Linked DNA regions of Homo sapiens: region 2 is linked to region 1. Evidence: promoter capture Hi-C in human tissues and cell types (Jung and others, 2019). All regions are on one chromosome and are shown on one strand. Each heading gives the region's core, a stretch centred on a gene start or on the middle of the fragment in contact. The rest is flanking DNA. Distances are from core to core; before and after follow the strand shown.

What was found. The method cuts DNA at HindIII sites, captures the fragments that hold promoters and counts their contacts. A contact is called where the count stands out against the background at its distance.
Region 2: a fragment that was not itself captured here is called in contact with the fragment with the promoter of ASH2L in region 1 in 1 of the 25 tissues and cell types used here (spleen).

Annotation. Positions count from the first base shown.
Region 1 is chr8:38,103,289-38,106,804 of GRCh38, reverse strand. It overlaps ASH2L (ASH2 like, histone lysine methyltransferase complex subunit), which reads right to left and starts at 1,276. Exons shown (of 16, transcript NM_004674.5): 1 at 1,067-1,276; 2 at 361-427. The coding sequence starts at 1,254. RefSeq lists silencers at 889-1,088, 1,419-1,508 and an enhancer at 1,179-1,308. The HindIII fragment of the contact is 26,659 bases long and covers 1-3,516 here.
Region 2 is chr8:37,805,894-37,809,091 of GRCh38, reverse strand. The region is part of intron 1 of ADGRA2 (adhesion G protein-coupled receptor A2); the gene reads right to left. Among named protein-coding and RNA genes, the nearest start is that of ADGRA2, 11 kb to the right of the region's middle. The HindIII fragment of the contact is 6,704 bases long and covers 1-3,198 here.

The DNA.
Region 1 (3,516 bases), core at 27-2,526:
GCGCGGTGGCTCACGCCTGTAATCCCAACACTCTGGGAGGCTGAGGCGGGAGAATCAACTGAGGTTAGGAGTTCGAGACCAGCCTGGCCAACATGGTGAAACCCCGTCTCTACTAAAAAGACAAAAAAAAGAAGCCAGGTGTGTTGGCAGATGCCTGTAATCCCAGATACTCGGGAGGCTGAGGCAGGAGAATCGCTGGAACCCGGGGGGAGGAGGTTGCAGTGAGCCGAGATCGCGCCACTGCATTCCAGCCTGGGCGACAGAGCAAGGCTCCGTCGCAACAAAAAAAAAAAAAAAAGAAGAAGAAGAAATAACTAAAACAAACCCTATTTTGTCTTGCAAACAACTAAAAATACTTACTAGTGTATCTTTTCCATTAGATGATTCTGTCTCCAAGCCACCGCTTACATCGACCAAGTTTGCCTCCCTATAAGATAATGAAAGCGCTCAAGTAAGAATTCTCAAGACAAACCTCAAAATGCCTATTCCCAAAAATGATGATCAAATTACAGCCGAACTTCATACTCCTGCAGCTTTTTCAGCTAAGCCTGATCTCAGACTGGATGCCCAAGGTACTGTCAGGATACTGAGAAGGTGGACATGTCAGACAGTCGCGGACCCACGGAGCACAGGGAAGCCTAACCGGCCTTTACAGTCAAATCTACCTGGGTTAGAGTTGGTCCTGGGAGAGGTTCAAAGAGAGGCAGCTCTCCCACCCTGTTTTCAGAGTGACCGTTACTTCTTCCAGTCTGGCACTGCAAAGTGGTTTCTTTTCTGGAATATGTGAAGGCCTCCCGTTAAAGTGTGAGCTACCAGCTTCCTGCCAGGGTGCAAGGATCAGAGATAACGACAGGAGCCTCAGCTCCCACCGCCCGTGAAAGGTGCGGAAGGGGCGTTATCCGAGATATGCTTGAGAGGGGACGGGCCAAGCGGCGCAGAGGCAGGGCGAGCCATTGGCGGCGGGGCCTGGGTTCGCAGGGGGCGGGCGGCAGGGCTCCAGGAGCCGCGGGATTCGCGAGGGGCGGGCCTCCCTCCCGCGTCTTCCTCGGGCGGCAGGACCTCTTACCCGCCTTCAGCCTCCCCGGAACTGGGCTCAACTGTCGGAGCAGCAGAGATCCCCTCTCCAGGAGGAGCGGCTGCTCCCGCTGCCACCGGCTTCATCTCCCCCTCTTCTGCCCCTGTTGCATTTGCGACCGCTCCTGGGCCAGGCCCGGCACCCGCTTCCTGGCCAGGTCCTGCTCCTGCCGCCGCCATCACGGCCACCCCTGGACTTCTCGCGAGAATACTCTCTTCTCTCGCGCGCGTTGCTGTGTGACGCTGTAGTCTTCAAACAGAAAAAGCCCGCGGTGCGTCCACCGCCTGCCTGAGGAAGCATAATTCCACGACCGCTTTAAGGCCAGGCGCGCGGGCAGAGGTGGGCCGGCCTCCCGCGCCGGCGGTGGCCGCGGGCCTGGCAGGCTGAAGGTGGAGGAAGCTAGATGGTTAGTGCGGCTCTCTGGAGGACTTCCTTTCGAGTCAGGGACTGACGCGGCGTATTTTCGTGGCTACGACTGGATATTCTGCGCAGAAGAGGGTCCTTGAGAGCGCTGGCCGTGCCGTGCCGCCAAACACTCCTCACCACCGAATGTGGGAAACGTCTTCCTTGGAGTCTAGCACTCCCTGCCCGCCCCGGATGGAATTTGGTTTTCTGCGCAGGGTCGCCCCTTGGAGCCCGTTTCCAAATGATTTTAAGAGGGAAGGGAATCTAGGGAGGCCGATTCCAGGGGCGAGGGTGGAAAACCCAGGCCGGGCAGCCGAGGAGCGGCGTGGGCACTAGAAGCGGCTCGCCGCTTCCTACTGTGAGAGGCGGAAAGCGAAGCCCCGGGGTGTGCCGGGGCACTCGGAATGTAGACAAGTTTGGTGCCCAGCGAAAGGAAGAGGTGTGGACTGAAAGTACGAACTTGGGAAGTCATCAACAGTAGCTGGTGGCTGGCATCAGTGGAGTGAGTTGAGTCTTTCAGAGCCATGGTCTCCAAACTCGAGAATGCAAACCTCTGAGAGTGTTGCGGCCAGGAACGTTTTCAGGACACCAGTGTTTATCCTATATCCTAAAATGTTGCCTAACGATAATACACTCTTCTCCCGCTTTACACAAGAACGGCGCACCCCTCGCCAATCCTCAGTCTAATCTTACTGTGATGTGTCCACCGATAGTGTAGGAATCTCTGGGCCACTGGACGCCATGGGAAATACGTAGATATTGATTTCCCAATTGGTTCTCAATTATTGGTTTTCAACAAAATTGAAGAAAGACCTAACTGAGTTGCCAGGTTACATTTTTAAAATTGATGATAAATACTTAAATCAGGGGTTGGTACTCCAAAGAGAAGCAGGATGCTTGATCTAAGTATCTCCTCCCAAATACGTAGTATTGTAGCAGTTTTAACATATGGTCGCAGAATTTTGTGTTTTCTTGTTGTTGTTTGTTTGAGACAGAGTCTCGCTCTGTCGCCCAGGCTGGAGCGCAGTGGCCCGATCACGGCTCACTGCAACCTCCACCCCAGGTTCAAGCGATTCTCCTACCTCAGCCTCCCGAGTAGCTGAGATTACAGGTATCTGTCACCACGCCCGGCTAATTTTTGTTAGTAGAGGCGGGGTTTCACCATGTTGGCCAGGCTGGTGTCGATCTCCTGACCTCAAGTGATCCACCCACCTGGGCCTCCCAAAGTGCTGGGATTACAGGTGTGAGCCACCGCGCACGGCTTTTTTTTTTTTTTTTTGAAACGGAGTCTCGGTTTGTCGCCCAGGCTGAGTGCAGTAGCGCGATCTCAGCTCACTGCAACCTCCACCTCGCGGTTTCGGGTTCAAGCGATTCTCTTGCCTCAGCCTCCCGAGTTGCTGGGATTACAGGCACGCGCCATGACGCCTGGCTAATTTTTGTATCTTTAGTAGAGACGGGGTTTCACCTGTGTGTTTTTTTTTTTTTTTTCTGAGACAGAGTCTCGCACTGTCGCTCAGGCTGGAGTGCAGCAGTGGCGGCATCATACCTCACTGCCGCCTCAAGTTCCCCGGGTAAAGCAATCCTCCTGCCTTAGCCTCCTGAGTAGCAGGGACTATAGGCACGAGCCACCACGCCCAGCTAATATTCTTTTTTTTTTTTTTCTTTTTGAGACGGAGTGTTGCTCTGTCGCCCAGGCTGGAGTGCAGTGGTGCAATCTCCGCTCACTGCAAGCTCCACCTCCCGGGTTCACACCATTCTCCTGCCTCAGCCTCCCGAGTAGCTGGGACTACAGGCGCCCGCCACCGCGCCCAGCTAATTTTTTGTATTTTTAATAGAGACAGGGTTTTTGCCGTTTTTTAGCCAGGATGGTCTCAATCTCCTGACCTTGTGATCCGCTGCCTCGGCCTCCCAAAGTGCTGGGATTACAGGCGTGAGCCACTGCTCCCGGCACGCCCAGCTAATTTTCTTAATTTTTAGTAGAGACAGGGTCTCATCATGTTGCTCAGACTAGTCTCCAACTCCCGAGCTCAAGCGAT
Region 2 (3,198 bases), core at 163-2,662, 300 kb after region 1:
CAGCTTTTTGGGAGGCCAAGGTGGGTGGATCACTTGAGGCCAGGAGTTCAAGACCAGCCTAGCCAACATGGTGAAATCCCATCTCTACTAAAAACAAAAATTAGCCAGGTGTGGTGGCACGCACCTGTAATCCCAGCTACTCTGGAGGCTGAGGCAGGAGAATCGCTTGAACCTGGGAGGTGGAGGTTGCAGTAAGCCAAGATAAATCATGCCACTGTACTCCAGCCTGGGCAGCAGAGCAAGACTCTGTCTCAAAAACAAAAATTAAAAATAAAAATAAATAAAGAAAGAAAAAAGTTTTTCTAGAGGTGAGGATCTCACTATGTTACCCAGGCTAGTCTTGAACTTCTAAACTAAAGAAATCGACTTGCCTCAGCCTCCCAAAGTGCTGGGATTATAGGGATGAGCCACTGTGCCTGGCTGGGTCTGGCATTTTTATGGGCAGGTAGAAAGCTGGGTGTTACAGCACTGCTGATGGGGATGAACATGCACGCAGGCCCATGCACACACACACACACACACACACACACACAGCTTCATCCAATGGGCAGAAAAATGTTCCCACCATTCTAGGCTGTCCCCTGGGAGGAAAGCAGGCAAAGTGGCCACAATTGGGCAGGGAAGGAGGGAGCCTTGGACCCACAGCTCCATCCAACACAGACATAGGGTCAGCCTCGGCCCTCTTCAACCCCCACAAGACAGACGCCTCCTCAACCTGCTCCGTCCTCTGACCCTAAAACCTCACGGGGGCCAGCCAGGTAGATGTCCTGCCCAACCACACACTAGCTCTGCCCCAGAGCCCTGGCTGGCCTGGCCAGGCATCTTCGGCTTCTTTCTTCCCTCCCTCCCACGCCCTTCTCCCACTCCTAATGTCAAGCTTTTCACAGGAAGGAGGGCCAGTCCCTGGAGTCTCCTGTTCTCTACTTCAGAGTTTGAAATCTGGCCAGAGAGAGGGGGCACACCGAGTCCATTCCAGAACTCTCTCCCGGCTGGGGTCCCATTTTGTGGGAGAGAAGCAAGCAGAGTTCCCACTAATGAGGCTGGAGGCCAAGGGAGCAAGCGGCTGGCGTCTACAGAGAGGCTCTGTGGGCTCTGGGCAGCCGCAGGAACGTACCAGATACCACCCCAACATCAAAGATGACCCTGCAGGAGTCACGTGGGCACATAGCACATGCCTGAACTAAATGTTTCTCACATGTGCGGGAAGAGTCATGCATGTCAGCCCCCTGCCAACCACTCAGACCCAATGAGCTCCTCTCTGGACTTGGGATATCCATACTCCCTAGGGAGTCTGATCCTGGAGCCTCCATCGGTTCAGGCCATCACTAGGTTCCTAAAGGTTCCCAGAGTCTGGGAGGCCCTGTCTCCAACACCTGCCACTGGCAGCTTGGCCGTGTCTTAGGGAAACCATCACAGAACTGGTAGGGGGCAGTCTGCTTGCTGATGCCAAAAAGCCCTGGGGCTCGAACACCCACCGAAATCAGAGCTCTCAGCCTCCCCTGCAGCCGCTGTGCCTTTGAGCATTTCCAGGGCTCAAAGAGATGCCTAAAACCTAAAAAAGAAGCATTGCCTCTAAAATATAGATGCTGCAAAGACGGAAATTAACCAATGCTTAATGACATAATTACCCAATGTCATACTATGTCATTAGCAATAATTATTATGTTCGATGACGGATGTGGGTACATTTTAGTATGGTTGATACGACAGTAAGACCTCCAAAAGTGAGGATGCTCGCCGTGCACAGGCCCTGTTTCAACACACAACCTCAAGCGAAAGGCTGGCCTGTGGCTTCCCGTCCCTCCGTGGCTGCCTTCACATGCATTTAGCCTGACTGCAAGGGACATAAATGTTGGTGAGGACATGTAAGGTGTTCTGCCCGCTCCTGCACTTCCCTGCCACCCTTCCCTGGGCTGGACGCTTGTCAGGTCAGCCCTGAACACCGACTGGCAATAGAAGGAGGCCTAGGGAGGGGCTTTAGGGGGTTGGGTCCTGAGACTGCCCCTGAACCCAGCCTGGAAGCTGGGCTGTCCAGGCAGGGCTGGAGGCCCAGGCCATGAGAGAAAACAGACCTGCAGTGAGTCCTGCTCCACCCTGCCTTCTCTCATAGGTCTAGTCTCCTTTCTCTAACCTACCCTCTCTACAAGGGCACCCCAACTTGGTGGTGAGCAGGGGGAACCAAGAAACTGGGGCTTGGATGGGAAGGGAATCTGTGGCTTTGGGACAGAATCTGGAGACAGAAGCCTAAGAAAATGGGCTACATGCCGGGCGCAGTGGCTCACATCTGTAATCTCAGCACTTTGGGAGGACAAGGTGGATGGATCACTTGAGGTCAGGAGTTCGAGACCAGCCTGGCCAACATGGTGAAACCCCGTCTCTATTAAAAATACAAAAATTAGCTGGACAAGGTAGCATGCATCTGTAGTCCCAGCTACTAGGGAGGCTGAGGCAGGAGAATTGCTTGAACCCAGGAGGCAGAGGTTGCAGAGAGCCAAGATCGTGCCACTGCACTCCAGCCTGGGTGACAGAGTGAGACTCGACTCTGTCTCAAAAAAAAAAAAAAAAGAAAAAGAAAAAAGAAAAAGAAAAAGAAAAAGAAAATGCCACACCCATAGGGGTCACATTGTCTGAAGCTACCCGAGGTGGTGCCAGAGAGGAAGAGGAAACAGTTGGGGGTAATCAGTATACCTTGATGGGGATTTGGGGGTCACAGCATCCTGGCTTGAGCACAAGGAACATAGTCTGCTGTAATCATCCACAGTTAGGTATTCATTCATTCATCCATTCATTCATTCATTGCTCAGAGCTACCTAACAGCCACTGTGCACTCAGCCTTGTGTAACAGGCTAGTCCTACAAACATAAATCATACATCACATATCTGCAAACTTCCATTCATAGGAGGTGGAGGGAGATGTGTCCAACAGGATGGAATGTTCATCTATGTGTGTGTCTGTGTCCCCCTGATTTGTGGAGGCTGGGAAATTACCCCCAACTGACCTTAAACATTTCCTCCATGCACAACCTAAAAGCCCCCCGGGGGGAGCCAAACTTTTGAGTGAAGAAAGCAGACCTCTTTGAGGGGTAGGTGGTGATGGAGGTCTCACTATGTTGCCCAGGTTGGTCTTGAACTCCTCTTGCCTCAGCCTCTGGACTAGCTAGTATGCCACCATGCCCAGCTAACAAAAAAAAGTGTTTG